4 separate regions of the Homo sapiens genome follow, and regions 2, 3 and 4 are each linked to region 1. Evidence: promoter capture Hi-C in 16 types of primary human blood cells and fetal thymus (Javierre and others, 2016). All regions are on one chromosome and are shown on one strand. Each heading gives the region's core, a stretch centred on a gene start or on the middle of the fragment in contact. The rest is flanking DNA. Distances are from core to core; before and after follow the strand shown. Region 1 holds the start of ADAM30 (ADAM metallopeptidase domain 30). Region 2 overlaps PHGDH (phosphoglycerate dehydrogenase). Region 3 overlaps PHGDH (phosphoglycerate dehydrogenase). Region 4 overlaps HMGCS2 (3-hydroxy-3-methylglutaryl-CoA synthase 2).

Evidence for each region. Contacts are between HindIII fragments. The CHiCAGO score rates a contact against its expected background, and 5 or more counts as called.
Region 2: a fragment that was not itself captured here is called in contact with the fragment with the promoter of ADAM30 in region 1 in 3 of 17 cell types (M1 macrophages, M0 macrophages and M2 macrophages); the score reaches 8.6 in M1 macrophages.
Region 3: a contact is called between a fragment that was not itself captured here and the fragment with the promoter of ADAM30 in region 1, in 4 of 17 cell types (M0 macrophages, M1 macrophages, M2 macrophages and 1 more). The highest score is 11.0, in M0 macrophages.
Region 4: a contact is called between a fragment that was not itself captured here and the fragment with the promoter of ADAM30 in region 1, in 5 of 17 cell types (M1 macrophages, M2 macrophages, M0 macrophages and 2 more). The highest score is 11.8, in M1 macrophages.

Annotation. Positions count from the first base shown.
Region 1 is chr1:119,894,682-119,899,168 of GRCh38, forward strand. It overlaps ADAM30 (ADAM metallopeptidase domain 30), which reads right to left and starts at 1,834. Exons shown (of 1, transcript NM_021794.4): 1 at 1-1,834. The coding sequence starts at 1,655. The HindIII fragment of the contact is 9,342 bases long and covers 1-3,508 here.
Region 2 is chr1:119,724,496-119,728,982 of GRCh38, forward strand. PHGDH (phosphoglycerate dehydrogenase) reads left to right here. Exons shown (of 12, transcript NM_006623.4): 4 at 2,356-2,410; 5 at 2,509-2,607. Among named protein-coding and RNA genes, the nearest start is that of PHGDH, 15 kb to the left of the region's middle. The HindIII fragment of the contact is 1,725 bases long and covers 964-2,688 here.
Region 3 is chr1:119,743,920-119,748,406 of GRCh38, forward strand. It overlaps PHGDH (phosphoglycerate dehydrogenase), which reads left to right. Exons shown (of 12, transcript NM_006623.4): 12 at 1-296. The coding sequence ends at 121. HMGCS2 (3-hydroxy-3-methylglutaryl-CoA synthase 2) reads right to left here. Exons shown (of 10, transcript NM_005518.4): 10 at 4,083-4,487. Among named protein-coding and RNA genes, the nearest start is that of HMGCS2, 23 kb to the right of the region's middle. The HindIII fragment of the contact is 5,020 bases long and covers 1-4,487 here.
Region 4 is chr1:119,762,044-119,766,530 of GRCh38, forward strand. It overlaps HMGCS2 (3-hydroxy-3-methylglutaryl-CoA synthase 2), which reads right to left. Exons shown (of 10, transcript NM_005518.4): 2 at 2,129-2,583. Among named protein-coding and RNA genes, the nearest start is that of HMGCS2, 4.6 kb to the right of the region's middle. The HindIII fragment of the contact is 4,067 bases long and covers 661-4,487 here.

The DNA of each region.
Region 1 (4,487 bases), core at 584-3,083:
GAATTTGCACTTTCACACTTTTTAAAATTTCGAATTCCTGTAATCTCACAGTTACCAAATTGATCACCTATTAAGTTAACTGCATCATAGCACTCACTAGGAGCCTCCATGGCATCAGGTCCAAAAATGCTTTGGCACTGCATATATCTGGATCTGCACCCCTTCCTGAAACAACGGCCTTCATACTTGCAAGGGGTTCCATCCTGCTTATAAACGTCATTTGGGCAGGAACTTGAATTCCCGTCGCAGTACTCTGCAAGGTCACATTCATTTCCTTCCTGCCTACACACGTATCCAGATGGACGAAACCGACAATCATGACAGCAAAGTCCAATGCTACAGTTGGCACCTGGTTGCAACTTACAATTTGATTGGCAACACCGATCTTTCTGACACTCCTCTGTGGAACCACAGTCACATTCCTCATTGTCCTCCACAATTTTGTTTCCACATCTCTTAAGCACATAACCTAGTCCTGGGATATTATTTAGACATGTTGCTCCCGAAGAGATATGTTTAAAAAAAGAGATATAACTGCAATTGCTAAACCCAGTGCGTCCTGAGCCCATGATGCAATTAAGCCTACCCCTACATTGGCAGTATTGTTCATCATGTGACATTCCTACAGCATGACCCAGCTCATGAGCAGACCAGGTAGCAGGGGCAAGGATATTTGTATCTAGTAAAGTACTCACTGATCCAGCATATTCTAGAGAACACACTTTTCCAAACGACCATGCAAGAGCATCATTATATTTTCTTTGAAGATATAAATGTGCCCAATCTGATGACAGGCGAGCATTTAATACACTTTTTTTATATATTACAAATCTGCCTAAAACTTCAGCTAACTCTGGATATCCAACGCGTATTTTGTTAAAATCTGTCCATACTTCAAGAGCCTTTAAGTGTATCCTCATACGAACATCTTGAAAGTAGGTGTCCATAATCCCAGTCAAAAGAATGGCATCATGTATGACTTGAGAAAGATTGTTGTTCACAAACCTATACCTACTTTGATCAAAGAGTAGGATCAATTCCAAGTACTTTGGGTGTTTATAGGATCCAGGAAAGTCCCTTAGCCTCGCCTTATTCTCATAAGGGGCCATCTGCCATTCTATTTCATCATCACTTAAGCCACAAACCTGATTCCCAAACTGCTCTTTCTTCAGGAGATAGACGACATGTTCAAAACTGGGAGAGGCCTTGAGGGGCTCAATTTGGTAATGTTTGGCATCAATGTTAAATACACCTCGGAGACCCCCCATGCATGTGCTTATAGTAGCTTTAGAGTCCAGAGACTCTTTCACGGAGCCCATGTAGTTGCAGTCCTTTGGTATGTAAGGATGATCCTCCAGCAGTTCCCCATGTTCTGTGAAGGAGAAAACGCGCAGATGTCGGGGCAACAGAAGTCTCTTGGGCCACAAATGGAGGACGTGCTTCTTGCCTTTTAACTGCAGTAGGTAGGACACGGGACTGACCACACCCTGCACCTCTCCCCGGAAGCTCAGCTTCTCAGGAATGGTGACTTCATACGAGTCAAACTCCCCTTCAGGGTGAAAAATTACATCTTCGCCAAGAGACTTAAGGAGCATTGTCGGAACTAGTAGAAGGAGCAAACGGCATTGGGAGAGGAAGATCTGCACTGACCTCATGGTCTGTTCCCTACTCAGCCTCAGTTTGCTATTCAGTCCCTGCAACTCTGGCCTCGCGAGTCAGATTTCTGGGGGCCGCCGCTAGAGGCGCCTGAGCTCAAAACCCGGCTCCCCTGGCAGGGTTTCCGGGGGAGCCCGTAGCCTCCCAGGGCTCGGTCTAGCTGGCGTCCGCAATGCGCGCGTGACCTGTCCAACGCATCCAGTTCGTTTTCCGGGCCGTACCGTTGGGCGCAGGTGGAAGAAAGGAGGGAAACGTGGGCGAGAATAAAAGAGAAAAGAGGGGCTGTTGGCACGTGGGTTGGAGAGAGGGTAGAGAACACCATCGGAAATGGAGAAGGAATAGAGAAATAGGAAGAACAAAGGAGAACGTGTTAAAGGCTCACTGTATCTTTGCCTTTACTCTGTGTCTTTACACCTTAGGACACAGGTTGGAATCCGATGTTTTATGGGCCACTGTCCTAACTTCATTGTTGGACATTTCCCAGTTTTCCACTAGGGTTGCTTGTGGCAAAAGAAAGGAGCATCAGAACCAGCAAGAGTGGAAACAGCCTGAAAGTATCAGCGTAGACTCCACACCCCCAGCCCCACTCTGGGCAGTTCCTCTGTCTTCGGCTGCGGCTTCTTTTTAGAGAAGGCCCTGAACCTTAGTTGTGGGCCCAGGCAACAGAAAGGTCCTGAGCTCATTTTGCCTGGGAGTGCTTTCTGCTGTTTGTCTTTGGGGTGCCAGGGGTCAGTGTAATTTTTGTGTGTCCATGTGCAATGGTGGGAAGAACCTAGAAAAAGTGCCTGTTATAAGAGCAAACCCAAGTGCTTTCTGAGAAAGGTAGATAGCTGGTTATGTTCCTAGTCGAGCGATGAGGCTGACTCCACAAAGGAAGAAGCCTCTGGCTCAGAAAATGGAAGGGTTTATCGTCCGTAAAAGGGCAAATCGGAAGGTCATGAGGTGATTCTGAGGGATTCTGATAAGAGAGGAATATTTTCAGTTTTGTTCCTGGGAGATTCCATCTGGCTGAATTACAAGGAAAGGTTAAAAAGGAACAGGCTTGAGTCAGGGAGACTAGTTAAAAGCTCTTGTACCAAGCAATGTTGTCTGTTGGCAGAAAGCATGGCCTTAGGGCTGATAATAAGCAGTACTTATGGAAGACTGGCTCGTTTCATGCTACACACCCCGCTATGCTCTGCATAAATCAGCCCATTAAATCTTCACCATGACCCTAGGTTATAGGTACTACTATTATCACCCATACTTTGCACATGAGGACATGAAAACCGTACCATGGTTCAGAAGGTGGCGTCAGCTGAAGCAATCCCTGTGAACATTTAGGCAACTCTACCCGGAGCCTGTGTTCTTTACTAGTCAACTCTGTTGTCTCTTTAGGGAAGGACAAAAGTTGACAGCTCCAAGAGATTTAAAACCACTTAGACTCTGCTGGACTTAATGCTTGCATGGATTCTCCCAGAATGAAAGAGGCAAAAATGAAAAAGAATGTTGATGTTTCTGGCTTAGGTGTATGTGTGTGTCATGGTTCTAACCACTCAAAGAAGAAAAACATCAGAACAAATAGATTTAGATAAAGGAAATAAATATGAAAAGCTCTGCTTGCAAAATGTAGATTTCCAGGTGCCAGTAAAGGAGCATTGAAGAAGGGATTTCTCAACTGCAGACGAGTAGGCAGCATCCTCTGGGCTGAGATGCCTGAGTTGGAGCTGAACTGGAGTCCTCTGCACAGTGGTGCTGATTGAAGCCATAAAAGCTGATGATGATGCCTCATGGGATGGTGAGGAATGAGCAGAGAAAGACCAGGTTGGATCGCTCAGGAATAGTAGGATTTAAGGTCAGGCTGAAGGAAAGAAGCTTGCAATGACCTGTGAAGTAGTGGATATTGATATAAAAAGAAAGGCAGGGTAACAGGTGATTGCAGAAGCACTTCATGAACGATGTTATGACCAAAAGGTGAAATGCTGAGCAGAGTTCCAGAAACACTGCAATGAGCACAAAGGAGGTTATAGAAACTTTAGTGCAAACTGTTTCGGGGCACTGCTGATGAGCAAAGCCACATACCAGGAGGTTGGAACGTAAATTGGAGGTTAGAAAGAGGAGATCACAAACCTAGACTGCACTTTCAAGAAATTGGGTGAAGGAGAGAGAAAAGGTAAGAAAGTAGCTTGGGAACCATGTGGTAGAAAGAGGACTTGTTAGAGGAAAGAGTCCCTGCTGGAGCCTTGCTCAGCCTCCAGGAGAGGTTGGGTGATGATGCAGCGTGATCCTCCTTGGGGGCATCAGAGCAGGAGGCAGGGGTGGAGCAGACAGCAGGGTAGCAGGCAGTGAAGCTATGAGTGCAGTGAGAAAATAAGGGAGAGCTAGTCAGAAGGCTTCAGCTTTCTCTGTGACGTCAGCTGCTGGGAGTGTAGGGGTGATAGAGCTGAAAGAGATGAAGAAGAGAGCTCAGGAGACAGAGGACAAGGGAAAAATAAAAGTATCACCAAGTGTGTTGAGGGCCTAATTCAGGTTGGAAACCAGAAATTGCAGTTTCCTATCTGTAAATTAATTTGATTTTCTCAAGCAACACCCAGCAGCCTAAATTGGGGAGGGCAATTTGAATATATCTTCTGGATCTATTCTATTTAATCAAATCATCATTTTCATCTCTGTACCATTTTTCTTTGGGCTGTTATAGAATTTCTTGAAGAAAAACACTAATTCATCAACTCCCATTGCTACAATATAATTTGTGTGCTAAACGCAGATGTGTAGCATCTGAGTGTTGGACCCTGAGCCTTGTGTAAACAGCCTGCTTTGAAATATTTCTCTTTATTTATGGAAATTATACA
Region 2 (4,487 bases), core at 576-3,075, 170 kb before region 1:
AAGGAGAAACAGGGATAGCTTACACAGCAGTAGGGTCTCAGCCTAGAAGGGGCCCCCAGGCTGGCAGCCGGGTTCTCCCAGAACATCTAGGCTGAGTGTCTCTCCCCCTGGAGAAGTACAGAAGCCTGGCACCCTGGTTTCACTTCAGCTATTACCTTCAGGGATTTTTTTTTTTTTTTTTGAGTAAGGGAAAAGATCTCAATGTGGCTTTCTGATTAATTACCTCACTTTTTTTCTGGAGGTGGAAGGAAAGGATTGGGAGCCAGCAATACTTTCCCTCCTTTTCCAGGACCAGCTTTGTTTAAAGGAATCGGTGAAATGCTGTGGTTTAAAAGAAGCTCCCCATTGTCAACTGCTCACCATGACCTCACTCATCAAAGGTGCATCAAAACTAGGAAACACGCACACCCTATTGGGAAGGAATGCGTTCGTTTCATCAGACTGTTCCTAGCAGGGAGGACGGTAGGAGAGTGTGGGTGCCTATATGTAGACTCTACAGGATTGGGCAATGTGGGTGGAGAGCAGGCGTGGCTGGGCCTCACAGTAGGGACTTTGAGCAGATGGCGGGGGCTCCTGAGGTGCAGAAGAACAGCACACAGAAAGGAAGGAAGGAGAGAATCAACAAATGTAGGTTTCACCATTTTTGCCTGCTTTACCATCTCCTCCTCTAGTAAGTCAGGCCAGCAACCATTTAATTATTGTGAGGACCCTCGCCCACATTAGAGTCCTCTCCAGTCTGGCCTGATGAGGATTCCAAAGCATTGAAACCTGGAGAGGCTCCATGATCAGCTGGGAGCAGCAGCCAGAGAAAAGGGTTAGGGATTTCTTGTGTTCTGTGGTGCCGCACGCATACATCTTAGATAGCACTGTGGAGTCTGGTGGGAAGAAAATAGGATGTGAGGGAGAGGAGAGAGGGGCCAGGTGGGGCTCTGTCTCACTAGGTCAAAGGCATTTTATCAGGCAAGCTTTCCCAAGAAGTGAACAGTTCCTCAAGGCAAGTCCCTGTCCTTATTACCTGCCTGATGGGTCAGAGCAGTGAGGTGAATGCAGCTTGTCCCCCATGTGGCTTGGTACTGAAGTTCTTCTGAGTTTACCCATAAGATCGTGCGCCTCTGTGATGGAGGACAGATTCCACCTTCAGCCTTACCCTCAGATGGAGATCAATGTCCTAGTGATGTGTAGAGATGAGAGAATGTTTTTGTGTTAGAAGTTAGTGAAGTGAAAGCACGGAAGTAGCAGCTTGAGATTTCTCTTTTTGCACGCTCGCTCACTCTGAGGTTTTTGGCATCAGGTTAAAGGCCTACATTTAAGTACTCAGGAGGCTGGCCGTGCTGGGGTTGACTTTGCTGGCTTTGAATCTGTTCAAGTGCCTCCAGTTGGGTGATCTGGGGAGAACTGTTTAACCTCCAGTGCCTCCCTCCGTGCAGCTGTGAATGTTAGAGGAGTTAATGTGTGTCTAAACATTTCTTTTAGGATGTCTAAAATAAAGTGCTCCTTAAACATTGTTTCTCAAATCTTCCTTTTTTGCCTCCAGAGATGTGTTGATGACCCATGCCCACAGGACATATATCGCCCTTTGACCTCTAATGTTGCCCTAATTGCCACTTCCTCTGTCTCCTCCAGAAAACACAGATGTAGACTCAGACTTCCATCTGGACTAATAGGAGGAGACAGGCTGTGAAGAGTGTGTGTGTGTGTGTGTGTGTGTGTGTGTGTGTGTGTGTGTGTGTTGGTGGTGGTGGGACAGGAAGGTGGTGCGGATGTTTAAAAATGTTGGGACCACGCATTCAGGACAGAATGGAAGTGTCTGGGCTTTGGCATCCACCCACCCACTCTAGGGTCCAGACTAGTCTAAGACCCTCGGGGTTAAGAAACTCTCAAGGAAGCATAGGTAATTAGGTGTCCTCTTCATAATAGTAGAAGACGTCATAGGTTATGGTGCTGGATGAGATAGGTAGATCAAAATAATTCCTTGAGCTTCTGGAGTACTCGATGTCATCAGAGTTGCCCAGTACCCCACTCAGTTATCCCTACAGACCCTGGAGGATTGGCGATCGCTTAAAGTAAAAAACTCACTCTGGTTGATGCCTCAGTGGCTGAGGTGGAATCCATACCTCCTCCCAGATGCCTGGCTGGTCACAGAAATCCCAGGCTTTCTAAGTCAGATCTTGCCAAGGGTTTCTCTCTTCTGTTTTCCCTTTATCCCCCATCAGTGTTCCTAAACCTGAACCCCCAGACCCAGTTCTTGGGGAAGTGGCTGTCATGGGCAGTGACTGTGCAAACCTGATGTTGCATCTCCTTCCTGGGCTGGCGGGAGTCCGAATGGACCCTCTGAACCTGTGTCTATCCTTGCAGGCAGATTCCCCAGGCGACGGCTTCGATGAAGGACGGCAAATGGGAGCGGAAGAAGGTGAGCAGCGGCCTTGACTCGCCCCACCTGGGCTCAGGGCCCGGGGTCCACTCATGTTGCTGACTTCAGCTTCTTTCCTTTTGCCTGTTTGGTTGCAGTTCATGGGAACAGAGCTGAATGGAAAGACCCTGGGAATTCTTGGCCTGGGCAGGATTGGGAGAGAGGTAGCTACCCGGATGCAGTCCTTTGGGATGAAGGTAAGATGTTGCTGGAACCCTGTGATGTGGGACTTTCTGCAGCAATTTTGGGAAAGGCAGCATGTCTGGGCAGAAGCCAGAAGCTTTGTTCTAGGAGGGTCTGACCCTCTCTTGGAGCCCCCATCTAAATAAGTGTTAAAGTCAAGGAGGGAGAGAACACTGGCCTGCTGATCTGGACTCAAAAGCTGGAAATACTTGGTGGGGGTCCTTTAGCTCTCTGGTGAGTGAATAGCCCTGAGTCCCAGTGAACCAGGTGTTGATGGCTCTTTTGAGACTTTGGTTCCTGTCTTCTTAGTTTAAAAGAATTTAAACAAGAGACACGGTGCAGCATTGAGGAGTTTATTGCAAAGGAAAAAGAATATTTTGAAAGTTAAGTGCAGAGTAGACAGTACACCTCGGGAGAGAGAGAATTCAGGGTGGGCTGCTCATAAGAGTGAGGCAGTGTTGGCCGGGCGCGGTGGCTCACGCCTGTAATCCAGCACTTTGGGAGGCCGAGGCAGGCAGATCATGAGGTCAGGAGATCAAGACCATCCTGGATAACATGGTGAAACCGCATCGCTACTAAAAAAAAAAAAAAAAAAATTAGCCGGGCGTGGTGGCGGGCGCCTGTAGTCCCAGCTACTTGGGAGGCTGAGGCAGGAGAATGGCGTGAACCCGGGAGGCGGAGCTTGCAGTGAGCCGAGATCATGCCACTGCACTCCAGCCTGGGCGACAGAGCGAGACTCCGTCTTAAAAAACAGAAACAAAAACAAAAACGAATGAGGCAGTGTTGATTATTGCTGGAGAAACTCCCTTTATAGGAGTTTTACATGATTATTCATAAGGAGGTGGGAAGAGCTGTTACTAGTAAGCATGTTTTGGGTGGTCCTCTGGGTGCACATGAGTAGTAGCTGTACATTCTTGTTCATTTGGCACATGTCTTATTAGCATCTTAAATCTCCACCCAGGAGTGTGTTTTTTACTATTATAATGAGCCAGGGGGTCAGTTTGAGGACAGGAAAAATCAAAGTGCACAGGCTGTCTAGATGGGAAGTTCCCTACTGAAGATAGCTTTGCTTGAATGAGCTCAGTTAGAATATGAATACCGAGGCTTATTGTGTTGACTATAGGATCACCAAGGTTGCTGCACTTCCTTGATTACCTATCCTGCCTCACAGGGAGGGTGCTTGTGTCCTGCCCATTCTTTCTTTCCTTCCTGCTTTTGTTTTGTCTGCTTTCCTGTGATAATTTAGAAAACAGGAACAAGTTTATGGCCTCACAGTAGAGCCTTACATCCATTGTCCATCTGTCCTTCCAGTTTCCCTCCATATTTCAGAAAAGATTTAAAAGTGCTTGTATGTACACTATGATATGATTGTAGAGCCTATGGTGGCTGGAAGACCTCACACCGGTCTCAGAAATCACACCTAACTCCTGTCTTCCCCCAGGTCTCTGCCTTTTCCTACTCTGGGAGCTCAGTAGGCTTCTGGCTACTCCCTTAGCCTGATTGCAACCCTCTGGTTGCCATCAGTAGCAGTGCCACCCACTTGGGCTAATCCAGGAGACCTTGCAAATGAGAGAGGCAATTCAGCTAAGAGAGGGGATCTGCAGGGCTTCCCAGATAGGCCAAAGAGATGAACCCACTAAGGCTACTATGGGACATCTCTCTGTTCACTTTCTGTTTTAGGGAATTACAGGGATTATGGGGTCAAACTGCAGCCAGGAAGTCTTTAAACATTAGGAGATCAGTTTTGACAACCAGATCATGTCAAATCTAGAAAAGTTTACATAGAGCTGCTATGGAACTCTCCCTTTTTCTACATCCCTCCTACCTTCTTAGAGTTAGAAGGGATCTTAATAGATTAACCCTTAATTTTACATTGACATCTAGAATTTGTAAG
Region 3 (4,487 bases), core at 1,141-3,640, 150 kb before region 1:
CTACCAGACTTCACTGGTGTCAGATGGGGAGACCTGGCACGTCATGGGCATCTCCTCCTTGCTGCCCAGCCTGGAAGCGTGGAAGCAGCATGTGACTGAAGCCTTCCAGTTCCACTTCTAACCTTGGAGCTCACTGGTCCCTGCCTCTGGGGCTTTTCTGAAGAAACCCACCCACTGTGATCAATAGGGAGAGAAAATCCACATTCTTGGGCTGAACGCGGGCCTCTGACACTGCTTACACTGCACTCTGACCCTGTAGTACAGCAATAACCGTCTAATAAAGAGCCTACCCCCAACTCCTTCTGCACTTTTGTGTGGTCATTATCCTAAAGCGCCACCAGAGGGCGTCCAAAGGCAGACGTAGGGTTTGGTTTAGACTGCGGGAGCGGAGCGGGTGTGGGGGAAGATGGGGATGAGCAAATGGCTTGGTTGAGTTCTTTGAAGGTGATCCCTCTCTTGTCTGCCGAAGGTTACTCAGAGGCACTTTTACAGGAGCAAAGCTCAATGTATTTCACAGTGCTACGGTATTTCAGACCCCTTCCATCTGGGAATATACATGCACGTTAATAAGTAAGATTCAACACACAAGCCCAGCATTATGTACCAGGCACTGGGCTAGGTGCTTTACTTTAAGAGGAGAATTCAAACCTGACCCTTTTTCCATAGAAGTCTGGTGGGAGGGACAGAGCATGCAGAGGTGACTGGAAGCAGTGAGTGATGCTACAACAGAGGTGTATAGGAAATTCTCTAGAGTCCAAAGGAGGAAGTAATTTGAGCTGAGGATATTGGTGTCTCAGGAGATGTTTAGAAGGATTTCATAAGGGAAAGAAAGTGTAAAATTATGGGGGTATGAGACTATTTGGCAAGTTCACAAAGCAAGGTCAGTGTGGGTTGGTGAACATGTCACTTTTTTTTGAAAGATGATTTTCATGCAAAATACAGCTGAACGGCACTCTACCCAAAAGATTCACTTCAGGGAATTTTTTTCCCCATTAATAAGGGATGATCCATTCTTACTGTGTGCCCAGTAGTGTCTGTTTCTGAGATTCCTGGCCTGGCTAAGAAGGCTTGACACAGGGCAGCTGCTTGGCACTGGCAGGGGCGAGTCCAGCACTCTGGCCTCCTTAGTTTTGTGATGGAGCTAAGCATCAATAAGAACTCCAGCAGTAAGGGCTGTGTTAGTGTCTGCAGTGAACTCAGAGGGGTTGGCCTTGCTGTAGCTCACCTTGAAGGGAATGGGCCTGGTTGTGAATGTCATGGTCAACTCTGGACAGCTGTCTGACTGGGAACTCAGTGTTTAATTATCCTAGACCTTTGTTTCCTCATCTGTGGGAGGGCTAATGGTGCCTCTCACAGAACTGCAATGAGAATTTACTGGATTAAACAGTGACTTACGGGAAGTGCCAGGAGCACTTGGTGAATGTTGGTTTCTTCATCCTATGTTAGTCTGAGAGCAGACAGGCAGGTCTCAATTCTTTACATAGAACCAACCCCATGAACCAAATAGTTCTCAACATGACCTCATTGCAATTATGTTCAGCCAGATCTAGACACTGGGTGTCCTGACATCAGACAACCCATTCTCTCCAACTGGAAATATACCTGTGCCTCACATGGCATCCACTGAGGTCACTTGAGTGCACTGATGGATAGAAAAACAGGCTGAAATTTATGAAGTTAAAAATTCAGTTAAAAATTGAGCTCAATGTTTAGCCTCTCAGCCTCCTTCCTCATAAGCCCCTAAACAAATCATGTTCTGTGCACTAAGGTCTTCGGAACAGTACTAGAAACGCAGATTACTTGAGCATCTCAAAATATCTTCCTAGACTGGGTCATGAAAGAGGGCATGGGACGATCTTATCGTATCACGTCTCCCATGGCTGTCCACATGACCTCTCCCAAACTTAAAGGGCAGGATTCGTTGTAAAATTCAGCTGGTTTCTTTAGGAAACTCTGTAATATTTTTCATAATAGCTGCATCAATTTACATTCCCATCAACAGTCTAGAAAGTTTCTCCTTTTCTCCACATCTTTACCAACACTTGCTATCTCTTGTCTTTTTGGTAATAGCCATCTTAACAGGTGTGAGGTGGTATCTCACCGTGGTTTTGATTTGCATTTCCCTGATGACTAAGTAAATAGGCCAGACACAAAAAGAAAATTATTGCACTTACTCATTTATATGTGGAATCCCCCCCCAAAAAAGAGGTCAAATATATTGACATAGGAACTAGAAAAGTAGTTGAGGGGGGTGTCTAGGGAGATACAGGTCAAAGAATGTAAAGTAGAAAATACATAGGGTGAGTAAGTCAAAAGATCTGATGTACAACCTGAGGACTATAGTTAATAACAGTGTATTGTACTGAGGATTTTTCCTAAATTAGTAGATTGCAGCTGCTCTTGCCATGGTGGCGGGGGATGGGTAACTTTGTAAAATAATGAATATGTTAATTTGTTCCGTTACAGTAACCATTTTACTACATATATATATCTTACAACGTCATGTTCTATCCCTCAAATATATACAATGAAATTTTTGAAAAATCCAGCTAGGGCTACAGGGAGGGTGCCATGGACTCCCTCATGTTCTTTGTGGCATGTGGCATCTCTTCACTGCCCCTTTAGAGTAGAAGTTCATTCTTGTGCACACACAGCAGAAGGCTGGCTGTGAGCTCAGGGTGGAGGCAGGGCAAAAGCTGGGCCACGCACAGAATCTGCCTCAATGTGCTGACTCCTGAAGTTGTGATCAGTGTGTCCCCCTAGAGCTTGGGCTTGTCTCATGGTCAGTGGCGGGGCCATCTTTTGCATCAGTTTTAACATCACATGTTGAGTATTCCCGTTTGAATGAGTGTATCATAGCCCAACACTTGCCCAATCTGCCGTCCTCTCTCCTGCCCTAGGTCACCCTGTGTGAATTTTTGCCCACAGGGAAAGTCTTTATTTGTATGGTATCTGTAGACTTTAGGGTGAAAATGTTGACTGAGCCATTGGCAACTCATTCCCTCGTGTGCTGACCTTACATGGGGGAGAGGGCTTTGTTCAGAGCAGGCAGGCATCAGTGTCCCAGAGCTGCCAGAGGAAGGCCTCGGGCTCAGTATAAAAGTTGGTGAATAAGGAAGTTGGAGGGAGCCAGTGCTGATGCCCAGCTGGTGTGTGGGCTGTGGGCAGTGTCCATTCAATTGGTCAGCCCTTGACAACCTGGTTGTCGAATGTTTAATATCATTCCATTTGTGCTCAAATGCCTCCCTAGTGGAGACAGGCCTGGCCTCTGATGCAGGAAGTATGGGAAGTTCTGGTTGCTGAGGCTGACTGAGGCTGATGGAGAGAGTTTCAGCACCAACACTGCACAGTGAGCTTCTGTGTGGATAGAAGGCCAGGCCCGAGGCCTCTTGTCTCCAGAGCTAAGGTTAGTGCTGGGTTTTCTCCCCTGCACACAGATACCGAAAGGCACATGTTGTTCTGCTAGGGATGCCAACCAGGTTGAGGGCCCCTAAACATCTTGCTGAGGAGGTGCAGGCAGCAAGAGGGTAGCAAAGAGGGGCTGCTAAGCAGCGGCTGCAGCTGGTGTGATGAGTAGAGTTTTGCAGGCACCTTGAGAGAGGCCTGGGAAGGCAGTCAGCTAATGCTGGATTCTCTGAGCAAATTGGGGCTTATCTGGGATTTGTTGTGACATGAACAGCCTTGAGCAAAACAGTGAAGGGAACAGACCCAGCTTCTCATTCCTGTGGGGCCATTCTTAAGCGCTCCCTGAGGCTTAAGGGAGCCTTAAGCCTCCCCTGCTTCTCCTCCTCCTCCTCCTCCCCTCCTCCTCCCCTGCCCCCACCAGCTCTGCTCCCCGCCAATGGAAAGCATCCTCTCTCTTTTCCAAGGTGCCCTTTCCTCATGGGGGTGACTGAGGAAACTTTCTAAAAGGAAGTGATGACAACACCCTGATACTTTCCCTCTCCTCCCACTCCCGTCCTCAGCTCAATCCCCATCTGCCTGAACCATTGCTATTTTATAAGAGGACCCTAGAAGAAGCAGTGCCCTCCCCCAAGGGGGAAAGATCCTGTAATGGAATAATTTCCTGCCAGGCATCAAAATTTATTTATTTTTTTATTTTTGGCTATAGAAGGCAAAAACTTGTTAACCTTTGCGCTGTGTTTATTTGTTCAAATAACAGCGGCAAGGAATGACCAAGAAGATCTGAACTACAGCTCCTGCTGGCCCCTGTCTGCTGCTCTCTGTCTATGTGGTGTCTTTAGAACAGGGAAGTGGGCTGGGGGAAGCTGTGTTCTACCGTTCTTATTTGCCTTGTACCTGTCATAGCACTTGGCATGTGGCAGAAATAGAATGGAATTGCAAGGGGACAGAGGCAGCCTGTGAGGCAAGGACCCAGCCCTCTGACCCACAAGGTCTAGCAGGCTTGCTGCATGTTAGGCTGGGTTTGTATTCTGGGTTCCAAGAAACGCAGGAATCATTTCCTCTTTCTCTCTTTTTAATTGCTA
Region 4 (4,487 bases), core at 1,444-3,943, 130 kb before region 1:
TACAATGCCAAAAGTATACAAAGCTATTGTACAATGTTCATTAAAACTTTATTTATCATTGCTAAAAAACTAAATATCCATCAATATGGGATTAATTAAATAAAATTTGGCATATCCATCAAGAATATTGTGGTTTTAAAAAGAATCAGATAGACCTTACATATGTTGATACAGAATTACCTCTAAGACCTAAGAGATGAGGAATATTTTGTACAATGTTTAAAATGGAATAGATATGTGTATACTTGCAGGTACTTAGAAAAAATATTGGAAGAATACATATAAACCATCAGTGTTAAATTTTGGGAAGTGGTAACAGGTCAAATGAGGAGTCTTTCTTTGCTTTATATACTTTTGTGTATGTGTATGTTTTTTTCCAAATATAAATTTTAATTATTTTCATTTAAAAAAAAAAACACAAGAAAACATGGGGACTCCCAGCCAATCTGAGCCAGAAATACTCTTCTCTTTCCTCATCCCCTCCACTTTTCTCTGGAGTGATTCAGAACTCCCTGAGTCTCAGAGCCACTCCCTCCCACCTGAGGGTCCCCAGATGAATGACTGGCTAGGTCAGAAGCAGAGTTCTCATTCACACTGGCATCCTCTGGTCCTGGTGGTTACTGTCACCTGCAGGGTATGTAGTCCGAGTGTCCAGGCTCAAGCTTAGCTGTTTTTGTTTTAAATACAAACTAAAGATTCACATTTCAATAACTTGTTTTTTAAATTTTTACTTTTATACCTAGATACCACATTTTTTTAAAAGATGCATTTGCAACCCCATCTGTGGAATACCCAGCCCCTCAGAAGAATCTACGCATTTGAAATGGCATGCTTAAGGCTGACAATGCTCTCAAGAATAGGCTCTTTGATTTTTGGTTAAAGGCTGGTGAATGCCCCTTATTTTTCATTTCTACTCCTCAACTAAATAATTGGTTGGACATATCAGTGGTGGTAATGGTGGTAGGGGTTACTAGAGAGGTAGTAATACAAGTATCAAGTAGGAGAGGCACTTTAAGAACAGACTTGATGATGTAGACTGGACCATCCCATGTCAGTGGAATTGTTAATGATGGAGCCAGGTAGGGCAGTTGGAAAAGCCTGGAATGAACTTTTGTAATTGCACGGTCTTGCTGCATGTACAGAGATAAACTGTTACACTCCTCTTGACCTCTTTTTTCTAAAGCAAAAGATATTGAATTAGATGATCTCTGAGGACTCTGCCAATATTAAGGCTTTTTGATTAATTTTATAATTAATGCTTATCATGGTTTCTAAGGTTTTTAATCCTAGTTTCAAACTTAGTAAATATAGAGTGTCTTAACTACTGCCAACATACTGTTTTTTCACATCTTTATGAAAATTTCACATTTCTATGAATTATTTTATTCAGTCCTCTTATAAGTTAAGCAAGGCAGATAGGCAAATAACCCTGAGGCTCAAAGAGGTTCAGGAATTTATCAATGATTATTGATAGAGCTATGGCTTCAAGCTCTCATACTGTACTGTTTCCCTTGAATCATTTCTTGCTGTAACAACAGGGGTTAGTCCTCAAATATAGCACTGGGAGAAGATATAAGTAAGATACAAGGTAATGTTAATATGTTAAGCAAAAAGCAATATGCAAGGAGCCACCTAAGGGAGAAAGAGTAGAAATACTCACAGTCTATCTTGTGGTTTTCTGGGCCTGTTTCTATGAAGGTGTTTTTTTCCCGAACATCTAAACTTGCATACATCTTTCAACATCACCAATCTCTCAGAGACTTAGGACATGTTTAAGAGAAACAGGTACGGTAAAATAGGAAATATGTCAGATGTGGTTTGGCATTTTTGCCTCTGCCACTCACTATGTGTAAGCTATCAGATCTTCCATGTTCTCTTCTATAAATCTGGTATAATACACACTTCCTAGGCTGTTGTAAGAATTAAATGAATGGCTATGTGAACATGCTACCTAACTGTAAAGCTATATAAGTCTAAGTGGTTATTGTGGGATGATAGCAGCAGCTGTGTGAATATATTGTCCTTCCTTCACTAGATGAAGCCACCTGGGGAACTGAAAAGCAAAACTGGTAATATTCAGCCTCCAATTCCAGCACCTTTCTTACATAAGGTTCGTGGCCGTACATACCATCCCAGGAACTGGACTCCATCCAGTTGGCAGCATTGAAGAGGGAGGCAGTACCACCGTAGCAGGCATTGGTGGTATCTATGCCCTCAATATCAGTATTGCCTGAATCCTGGAAGAGTTCCATGAGCACTGTTTTGACAGCTTTGGACTTGTCAATGATGGTCTCAGTGCCTACTTCCAGCCTGCCCACAGAGTCCCATGGGAGCTGTATGCGCTCCATCAGCCGTTGCACCACCGTCAGGCACAGGGAGTTGATGTCCTCTTGGACTGAGCAGAAGCCCATACGGGTCTGGCCCAAGCCCACTGTATACTTTCCTGCTTCCACATTGTTATACTTCTCCAGGTCAGTTTGGTCCACATATTGGGCTGGGAAGTAGACCTCCAGGGCCAGGATGCCCACGTCCTTTGGCCAAGTATCTGTTTTGGCCAGGGGGACAGCAGAGGCTGTAGAAAACCTGTGATGGAGATAACAGTCAAACTCCCACTAATGGTCTGTAGACAATTTCCTCAAAAGACAGTAACATAGCAATCATTTAATTAATTTTCTATATTTTGAAGCTATGTTATCAGATGACTACAAATTTAGTATTGTTATTATCTTTTCATTGAATTGACCCTTCTATACTTATTAAATATCCCTTTTCATCTTTGTGATATTCTTGGCATAAAGTTTCCTTTCCTGACGTCGATATAGCTACACTAGCTTTTTGCTTACTGTTTCCATGGTACATCTTTTTCTGTCCCTTTTTACTTTCAACTTCTTAACGTCTTTATCTTTAACATACATCTCTTGTGATCGGTATATATATTTTAGTCCTTTAAAAAAATTTTAATAAGTCTAACAATAGTGGTGTTTTAATTTGAGTATTTCATCCATTTATATTTGTTGTAATTACTAATATAGTTGGAACTAAATCTTTTTTTTTCTCTTTTTTGAGACGGAGTCTCACTCTGTCACCCGGAGTCTCACTCTGTCACCCAAGCTGGAGTGCAGTGGCGTGATCTCTGCTCACTGCAAGCTCCGCCTCCTGGGTTCACACCATTCTCCTGCCTCAGCCTCCTGAGTAGCTGGGACTACAGGCACCTGCCACCACGCCCAGCTAATTTTTTGTATTTTTAGTAGAGACAGGGTTTCACCGTGTTAGCCAGGATGGTCTCGATCTCCTGATCTCGGTCTTCCAAAGTGCTGGGATTACAGGCGTGAGCCACCACGCCCAGCCGGAACTAAGTCTATTTTTTTATTTGTTTCTATTTGTCTCATTTGTTCTTTGTTCTTTTATTCCTCCTTTCCCATATCCTTTTAGAGTAAGCAAATATTTATTATTCATTTTATACCCTCTTTTCCTTTTACTGGTGACCTTAAAGATTATAACATGCATAATTGGCTTGTTGTAATCTTACTTAAATTAATACTTATCTTACTTTTGGAACACTGCAAAAACTTTAGGTTGACTTTATTTACTCTCTGCATCCTTTTGAACCATTATTGTCATATACTTTACTTCTACATGTTATAAGCCCTTATAGGGCATAATTATACAATCTTTACTCATTTTAAAAGTGTACCTCTAATTACATGTCTTTCTCCTTTCTTTTTTCTACACAAGAACATACCCACTGTTTTCCTACTTTTAAGTAAGTTTTCTGCTAGCTGATTTTTCTGATAGGGCCTTCCAATGTTTATTGAGCACACCCAACACAGTTCTAGTCCAAATACACAGCAGTGAATAAGACATGCATTGTGCCCATAAAGAGAGCACAGCCCAGTGAAAGAAGCAGACATTTTACAGCTAAATATGCAGGGAACACAGACAGCAGAAAGAGCAATTCTAAACGAGAGCAGAGGAAAAAAGGAAGGGGAAGGAGTCAGCAGAAGAAGGGAGAGATGATCTATTTCTTTTCTGGACCAATTCACTTCTCTTTAACCCAGATTCTTAATATCCCTGGCGAAAATCTGTGTTCCCTTTTGTATGGGAGCATACTGGAGGTGAACTTGGTGATCTCTGTACTGCTCCCATACAAAAGTACTTTATACCTTCTGTTCACTTTAGCAACATTCTTCATTTTATAGTTAGTGAAACCAAGGCACACACTGGTAAAGTGATGCACTCAGGGTAACTTCATAGTTTCTCACGTGTTAGAAATACTCTGTCCCTTCACTGCCCTGGGTGCCAGGCTTATAAATTTAGCTCCATTCTACGGGAGCTGGAACTCAGATTGAATGTGTCTATCAATCATCTTTGGGATTCTGAGCCTCTGGTAGAATTCTAGAGCCTCTCCCAGCAGCAAGGTCACTTCTAAGGACAGCTGTGAGGCAAAAGTGGATCATATGATCACAAGATAGTGAGGCAGAATGATA